3 separate regions of the Homo sapiens genome follow, and all the other regions are linked to region 1. The links are contacts of gene promoters, found by promoter capture Hi-C in human tissues and cell types (Jung and others, 2019). All regions are on one chromosome and are shown on one strand. The core of a region is centred on a gene start or on the middle of the fragment in contact, and the rest is flanking DNA. Distances in the headings are between cores, read along the strand shown. Region 1 holds the start of SLC24A2 (solute carrier family 24 member 2). Region 2 overlaps SLC24A2 (solute carrier family 24 member 2). Region 3 overlaps SLC24A2 (solute carrier family 24 member 2).

Region 1 (2,778 bases), core at 141-2,640:
ATTTAAGTTTACAAAAAAAAATTCTGGTGACATGCACAAGCTGCCTTCCCTAAACATCTAGACATTGTTTTCAGCTAAATATTTTTTTTAAAAAAACAACCTTTAGTCATATTTAAAATAGGCAGCTTAGTAAGTCAAAGAACTCCCAATGCAGTGAAATAACAAGTAGGCTATTTCGAGAGACCACATGTGTATTTCATAAACAATACGCAAGTTGTAGCAATACCTCTGTCCACAAAATCTGCCCAAAATAGCCCCACCACTGACTTTAATAGGTTAGATATCCAAAGCAGAGTTTTCTTTCTCTATCCCACGGAGGAGATGGGTAAAATAGCCAGACTTGACAGCTGATATTCTGAAGAGTTCTCTTTTTAGTTTTTCTTTAAAAAGACTATTCTTTTCCATATCAACGATTTCATTTTGGAGGCAGTCGCTGAGATAATCTCAGGTGTAAAATAAGCTAATTAAACACACGCCACTTAAATACTGAGATTAGCTGGAGCTCAGGTTTTCAGAGCAAAGCAAGAGCACAAATCAACCCCGCTGAGTTGCTGCTACTCCTGAGATAACCCGACCCCATCACGGAGATTCCCAGGTGGCTGCGAACGTCAACGCTTAGCAGGAACGATTAAGCGATTCACAGCACTCAGGGGATTGTGTAAATGCCCGGCCCGGGCGACCAGCAGGGACAGATTCAACTCCCCGGGCGCAAAGTCATCTCCAGCCCGATCCTCGCTCCCCCTGAAAACCCACCGCTCGTCTCCCCGGGAGCTGCCTCCGTAGGAGAATGTTCGCCCCCAGCCGCGCCCCAACTTTGCCTTGCGTGGTCCCAAACTTTCCCTGGTGGATTAATAGGAAAATAAATCTAAAGGACAGACGCCCCACCTGTGAGCTTGGAGCTGGGTTGCATTTGGTGAGGCGCTTGGCCCGCATCCCCCTGAGTCGTTTGTAGGTGGCTGGGGAATGGAAGCGCCCCTCTGCGCGTCTCCCCCGACGGCAGGCCCTGCCCCACGCCCCCCATCCCAAGCCAAAAGCAAGGGTAGGAGAGGCGGGGGCTCCAAATCCACGCCCCGGAGCACAGAGAGTTGGCTAACTCCTAGCGGGGCCTGGGGCGCCCACATCCACGGCAGAGCCACCTGTGAGCCTGCAGAGCAGCAACGGGATGCGCGCAACCGGGATGCGGGGACGACCGCCACAGCGGCTACAGCGGCAGGCGGGGCGCAGCCGCCCGCACTTACCAGGATAAGATGGGAGGACGCGCACACGGCGGGGCCCCCGAGCGCGGCCCGCCGCTCCAGTCCGCCGGCCCTCCGCCTACCCGCTCTGAGGCCCGGGCTCTGGCTCGCACTGGCTGCCGCTCTCGCCAGCCGGGCTGGGTTCGGGAGGAGACTGAGCCGCTGTGAGCCCGGCGCTCCGAGTCTGGCGCTGCCCGGCCCCCGCCGGCCCCTCCCTCTGGGCTGTGCGCTGTGCGCTGGGAGCGGGGCCGCAGCGCGCTCAGCTCCCGAGTCCTTTGCTCCACGCCTCCTGGGCGCAGAGGCGACGCTGGCAGCCGTCTCTTAGGAGATTTCTCCGCAGTGTGGACGGGGGTCAGGATTTGCAGGCGAGCAAGGGCAGAGAGGAGAAATCGTACAGGTCGGTGACGCGCCTAATTCACAAAGCCTGAAAGTGCTGTCAACTTTGGGGTCATCTTATGCTGGGCACCGCCTCTCCAATTATCTGCAAAAAGTGATAGCAGTCGCGCTTTTCTTTAGGAGGCGATGTGATGTGTAATGGTGGAAAAGACGTTCAATGAAAAGGCACGGAGGCCTGCAGGACAGGCTGTTGGGGTCCAGGGTTTCTTGAGTGTTGGATTTGGATGCTTGGGACACTGCAGGGGCTTCAGTCTTGCAGGGTGACCTTTCATTTCATGGGTGATGAAAGTGAGACCCAAAACCCCGTGTCATTTTGAATCACTGACAGGCTTCGGCTTTTGGCCTCGGGATGTCCAGCCCAGTGCTCCTTCCTGTCCTATCTGGAAAGCAAGATCCCCTTGACCACAAGAAATAGAATCAGGCTTGTTGGGGATGAGAGACTAGAATCTGGGCCAAAGAATGGAAGACGGTGGTAAGACAAATTGGTAGTGAGGGAACCCCTTTTACCCAACCCTGTGACCACCAGCAAAGCTGCCAAGAGGTACCCAACTCGTGAAGCTCTGAAAGCTTTTCGCACATTTTCCCCTCTCCTTACCCTCCATCCTTCTGTTCTCTCCCCCATCCAAGAGGGTTTCTTCATGCCCTCCTTACAATGGGGGTAATGGGTATATCCTGAGAGCTCATGACCTCTGACTTAGAGTACAGCTCTGTAGTCAGACCTCTGGGCCTACTCATCAATAAGTAAAGGGAAGCCTAGGGAACTTAGAAATATTTTTCTTCCCCCCACCCCCCAATCAAAGCCAGGCATTCAAGACTCAACTTTTCTTTTTCTTTCTCCTTTCGAGACTGAATCTTGCTATGTTGCCCAAGCTTGTCTTGAATTCCTGGGCTCTAGCCATCCTCCAGCCTCAGACTCCCAAGTGCTTGCAGACTATAGGTGCCTGACTGAATTTTTTTATCTTTAACTTTTAATTTAGAAAATTTCAAACATATACAAATGTAAGAAAGTAGTATAATGAATCTCCATGGGGCCATAACCAGCTTGAACAATTATGAACTCATGGACAGTCATATTTCATCTATACCCCTTTTTCCTATGTCATCATTTTGAAGCAAATCCCAGAGCATCATATCATTTTATCTGTAA
Region 2 (2,778 bases), core at 135-2,634, 220 kb before region 1:
ATTTAACCCTTATGATAGCTGCAATGAAGCAAGTACTGTTGCTATCTGCACTTCACAGATGAGGCAACTAAATTAAAGCTCAGGGAAGCTAGGTAACTTGACCCTGGTGGATCTAGAATTCACTACCAGGCTGTCCTACAGTGGGCCATGGTGACCTGCAGGCCCAGGTCACCTGATTGCTCTTGAGGTCCAGGTCATCTGATTGTAAGTGAAGACCTGATTGCTCTTGAACTCTGAGCCTAGCAGGGTGGTGCACAAATCTGTCCTGTTCCCCTTTGTGGAGACCTAGGGCCACAGCTCTGCTCAGAGAGGGGTCATCTGGGACTCTTTTGCTCCCCTGCAGCAAGGTCCTCCCTTGCAGGGGCACAGATGTCCCTCTGTCAGCCAGATGGAGAGGCATGGGGATGAGGCTGCCCTCTGCACACCTATGACTGTGCCATCCCCAAGGGCAGCCAGATGTCCTTGGGGCCTGCCTCCTGCTGCCACACGCTGCTTATCCATGTGGACATAAGCTGCTCTGCCAGCTCACTCTTGAGCTAATGCAAAGGGACCACAGGGCTCTGGGCAGGAAGGTAAGGAGCATAGAAGGCAGAGGAGACAAGGGCAGAAGGAGTGGCAGGCTCCTTATTCTTTCTGTTAAATGAAGAAACTTTCCTTAGGAAAGAAATACGTAATTTCTATCAGAGAATAAGGGTAACAGGCAACAATTAGCATTTTTTTTTTCTTAAGAAGTGGCTGCTAGGTTATATTGACTGTAGTCTGGTTTCTATTTGCAGGCACTGTATCACTTTTCAGCTCATTGGGGGAAGTTCTGTCTAGAGAGTGCTTTCAAACTTTAGGGTAGTGCTACTCCAAGTATGGTCCTTGGACCAACAGCATCAGCATCACTGGGGAGCTCATTAGAACTGCAGACTCTAGGCCTCATGGCAGACCTGACAAATTCAGAATGTGAATTTTAAGATGACCTCCCCAGAGAATTTGTAAGTACATTAAAGTTTGAGAAACACTGAGCTAGGTAAAATGCAAGTTTTAAAATGCCTAATTAACATGCAAGTTTGGGGCTCCAGGTCTTAGAAATTCTGATTCGCCTGATCAGGATGAGATCCAGAAATCTAACAAGCACCAAAGGTGGTTCTGCCTACATTTTGAGCAACTGTGTTCTAGAGAGAGTGGTGGAAATTGTACAGTTGGACGGTCCTGAGATGAAATCTCAGCTCTACCATCTACAAACTAGGTAACCCCAATTAACTACTTCATCTCACTGAGCTTCAGTTTCCTCAACTATAAAATGGAGCTACTATCCGGGCGCAGTGGCTCACGCCTATAATCCCAGCACTTTGGGAGGCCAAGGCGAGTGGATCACCTGAGGTCAGAAGTTCGAGACCAGCCTGATCAACTGAAACCCCATCTCTACTAAAAATGCAAAAAAAAAAAATTAGCCGGGTGTGGTGGTGCGAGCTACTCAGGAGGCTGAGGCAGGAGAATTGCTTGAACCCAGGAGGTGGAGGTTGCAGTGAGCTGAGATTGAGTCACTGCACTCCAGGCTGGGTGACAGAGTGAGAGTCCGTCTCAAAAAAAAAAAAAAAAAAAAAAATGGAGCTACTAATGCCTACACCTTCAGCTGTGAGGTTAAAGGTGATAACATATGTTGATATGGTTTGGCTCTGTGTCCCCACCCAAATCTCATCTCAAATTGTAATCCCCATATGTTGCGGGGAGGAGCCTGGTGGGAGGTGATTGAATCTGGGGGGCAGATTTCCCCTTTGCTATTCTCGTGATACTGAGTGGGTTCTCATGAGATCTGGCTGCTTGAAAGTGTATGGCACATCTCCATTCCCTCTTTTTCTTTCCTGCTCTGCCATGGTAAGACATGCTTGCTTCCCCTTCACCTTCTGCCATGATTATAAGTTTCCTGAGGCCTCTCAGTCATGCTTCCTGTTGAGCCTGTGGAACTATAAGTCAATTAAACCTCTTTTCTTCATAAGTTCTCTATAGCAGTGTGAAAATGGACTAATACCTATGTAAAATGCCTAGTACCGAAGCTGTGGCAAATAGTAGGTGTTTGATAAATGTTAGGTTTTACAACTACTAGACTGAAAAGTTCAAGTGGTTGTGCCATTGAATAATGGGTTGGGCCAGAGAGTGTTAATTTCAACCACAGGGACAGAGAAAGCCAAAGGGGGCTCACTGAGTCTGATGGCTGTGGTTTCTCTATTACTTAACACAGACCTTAAAGACACAGAGAAAGGATTAAACTGCAGCAGGTATCAAGCTTTATCATACATTAAAAATCACCTTGGATGCTAATTAAAAATGCTAATTCCGACGTGCTGCTTCCCAGTGATCCTGTTTCACCACACCTGGTATATGGCCCAGGGATCTACATTTTCATCCCCAGGAGATACTGATGCATGAGTCCTTCAACCTCACCTGGAGAAACAGTGGCTTAGAGAATATTCATATTCATTCAATAAATGTAGAGGCTGCTGCATGTGGGACCCTGGGGTGGCACTGGGAAATACACACAAGGATGTATAAGGCCCTACCTGATTCCTGCCCAGCTGAGAGCTGGGGCTTCCAAGGAGAATATAGGGTCTGTGCTGCCACGCTAGGATATCAGTTAAGAACAACAGCCCAGAAGAGCAATGGAGAAAAGCCATACCTGGGCTTCTGCACCTTCAATGTTGTGGGAGAGATTTCCATTTTGTACAGGTTCTGAAGCATCACTGGATGGTGTCATTTCAACATCTGTGCTGGTGCTGTTTGGAAGCTCAATTT
Region 3 (2,778 bases), core at 164-2,663, 200 kb before region 1:
CTTTCTGTCCACCACTCACTTTTCTCTTTCTACTACAAGAAAGTAGTAGATGTTCTTTGATCTTACTGGTCAATTCATTGATGCGGTCACCTTTTCACTGCCCTCCTTTAACGTGTTCTTCACTCGGCTCCAGAGACACCATTCTATCCTAGTTTTCTTCCCACCTCAGTCTCCTTTGCTGGGCCTCCCCTTTTTTCCCGGACTCTAGACTTTGGAGTCCCCAGGGCTCAATTCTTGGCCTTCTCTTCTCTATCAATTAGCTAGGTATTATAGTCCAGTTCTGTAGCTTTTAAATAACACGCATATTTTATGACCCCCAAATTTACATCTACAGCTCTGCCTGACCTCTATCCCATGCTCCATACTCCTACACCCACCACTTTCTCAACATCTCCATTTGGATGTCTCATAGGCATCTTAAATTTAACATGAGTGCTCAAGCTCCCTCTTATAGCTTGCTCTATTCTCAGTCTTCTCCACCAACACACAGTTATATGAAAGTGAGATGTCCCTGTTGAGAAGAGACTGCAAGTTGCCTATCCAATATCTATTCCATTTTCATTTCCTAATGACATAATGCCTAAATTATTGGGGACAGCAATTCATGCAGTTTAACAAACTACATTTCCAAATTGCCTTGAAACTAGGTAGTCATGTGACTGAGTTTTGAGCAAATTTTACTGAGAGGGTCTTCAGGGAAAGCTCCTTAAAAAGAAGACAAAATATCTAGAGAAAATCACTTTGACCCTTCCTCCTTCCAAGAATACAGACGTGATGGCCAGAGCTCAACAGCCACCATCTTGGACCATGAGGTGCCCTTGAGGTTACAAATCATATACGAGGGTGGTGGAGCAGAAGGATGGAAGGAGCCTGGGTCTTGAATTATTGTGGAGCTGCTAGAGCTGCCATGTCTTGTCTGCTACTCGAATTCTTACACTTGAGAGAAAAATAAACTTCCATCTTATTTAAGTCACTGTTAATTTGGATTTTCTGCTATATATAGCTAAAGCTATTTTGCCTGATGTATCAGTGTGTATGACACAATCTCATCCTTTCATGCAAGGATTACAATGTCCTATGAAGGTCACAGATAACAAGAAGGACTTATTTTAAAGTAACATTATTTAGTTGATATATCCTGGGCAATGAAAAACATTGCTGAATGGTATTCCAAAACTTAATTTCTCTTTGAAAATAATTAGACTATTTCACTGCAACTAAGAACATCAAATGATTGGCTAGACAATGTGACCTTAAGATACTTTTGTTTCTTTGAAATAATGGGGGTTTTCAAAACAGCCACATGCCTAATTTAGGACCCCATGATTCATGTAAGACATTATTAGTTTTTCAGCTTGGTAAAGGGGCAGTTGGTTGCCATGAAACAGTAAGCTTAATTTAATTATGGAAAAGGTCTTTATAATTTTTTTGCCCTTGATATCACAACTTTTCTACCATTTTCTCCCTTATACAAATGAACAAGGATTGACTTTTTAAATAGTGGTGAAATTATTTTTCTGGAAATGTCTTTGGTTAAATGGCAGAGAGTTTAGGACAATACAATGGAGACAGCTTTCCCCACATATTGCTTCATTGCAAGATATTAGTTGGGATATCTACCGACCTACCTACCTACCTACCCACCTACCTACCTACCTACCTACCTACCTACCTACCTACCTACCTACCTATCTACCTATCTACCTACATGTCTCTGTGAAACATTTACCTTTGAAGAGCAAAAATTACTAATTCTATATACTGCCATTGGTGGAAAGGTCTTTTCTCCTTTTAATCCATCTGTCCCATCACACAAACTTGCCTACTTTTGAACTAGCATTCTATATTATTATTCAGAATAATTTTAGGAAAAGAGCCACGTTCAATTTATTGAGAATTTTCTAGAGTAAGAATGGTATGAAATTTGGGTATCTGCAGATGAGAAATAAGCTATGCATTATTAACTTTAAAAGTTGGAGATTGCTCTTCCAAAAATATGCAGTATCACTGTATGAGAAGATAAGGTGACTGCTGCCTGTGTAGGGGTAGCTGAAGTTACCAAAAGACATTTTTGTCCCTAGAAACATCTTATTACAGGGGCAAAGTCCCTGGGAGGAGTAAAGCTCACTAATTTATCATGTCTAGCAAAATGTCTCATTCAGAGAAGGTGCTCAGTTATTATTAAGTGAATGTGCTAGTACAGGTGGCAGGTAAGACAGGTTGTCATCTTGGGACACATGAACATGGCAGTGGAGACATCGCCTGCCAGGCACAGTGCTGTGAGCTTTATGAATTCTGCCTGCCCTCACTTCCCAAGATAAGAAAGATGCCTTCCACTGGGCTGTTCCAGCACCTAGGGTCTACTCATCTCATGCCTGTGTCTCCCACAAGGTCATGAGTTCTTTAGGAGAACTGTGTTTAATCTCCTCCGCTCTGCCCCCAATCCAGCACCTGGTACATACTGGCTATTGATGAACAAATTCATGAAAGAATGAATAAAAAAGTAGATAAAATTTGGATTGGCTTGGGGTGGGGAGAGGAGGTTGGGTGTGGCCTCGGGAGCTGCTCCAGTGAGGTTCTAGAGCATCTTAGGGCTGAGGGAGACAGGGGAGGGGGAAAGGGCTCGGAGGGCAAGGAGAAACTTTTCAAACGTCATGATTTTGTCTTGCGTGTGAGAGTAAGTATATTGTTTTATTAAAATAACCTTTTCATGGCACAGTGTTCATGTAGAAAGAAATGCTTTCTTCAATAGCTCATTGTTGTCCACACCGTGATGCC

Evidence for each region. Contacts are between HindIII fragments. The study calls those that stand out against the background at their distance.
Region 2: a contact is called between a fragment that was not itself captured here and the fragment with the promoter of SLC24A2 in region 1, in 4 of the 25 tissues and cell types used here (adrenal gland, dorsolateral prefrontal cortex, lymphoblastoid cells and 1 more).
Region 3: a fragment that was not itself captured here is called in contact with the fragment with the promoter of SLC24A2 in region 1 in 2 of the 25 tissues and cell types used here (dorsolateral prefrontal cortex and hippocampus).

The regions. Positions count from the first base shown.
Region 1 is chr9:19,787,647-19,790,424 of GRCh38, forward strand. SLC24A2 (solute carrier family 24 member 2) reads right to left here and starts at 1,391. Exons shown (of 11, transcript NM_020344.4): 1 at 1,239-1,391. It overlaps LOC124902128 (a long non-coding RNA gene), which reads left to right and starts at 1,513. Exons shown (of 2, transcript XR_007061432.1): 1 at 1,513-1,632. RefSeq lists an enhancer at 307-954. The HindIII fragment of the contact is 14,556 bases long and covers 1-2,778 here.
Region 2 is chr9:19,570,689-19,573,466 of GRCh38, forward strand. SLC24A2 (solute carrier family 24 member 2) reads right to left here. Exons shown (of 11, transcript NM_020344.4): 7 at 2,663-2,778. Among named protein-coding and RNA genes, the nearest start is that of MAP1LC3BP1, 110 kb to the left of the region's middle. The HindIII fragment of the contact is 6,097 bases long and covers 1-2,778 here.
Region 3 is chr9:19,590,854-19,593,631 of GRCh38, forward strand. All of the region lies in intron 5 of SLC24A2 (solute carrier family 24 member 2), which reads right to left. Among named protein-coding and RNA genes, the nearest start is that of MAP1LC3BP1, 130 kb to the left of the region's middle. The HindIII fragment of the contact is 5,373 bases long and covers 1-2,778 here.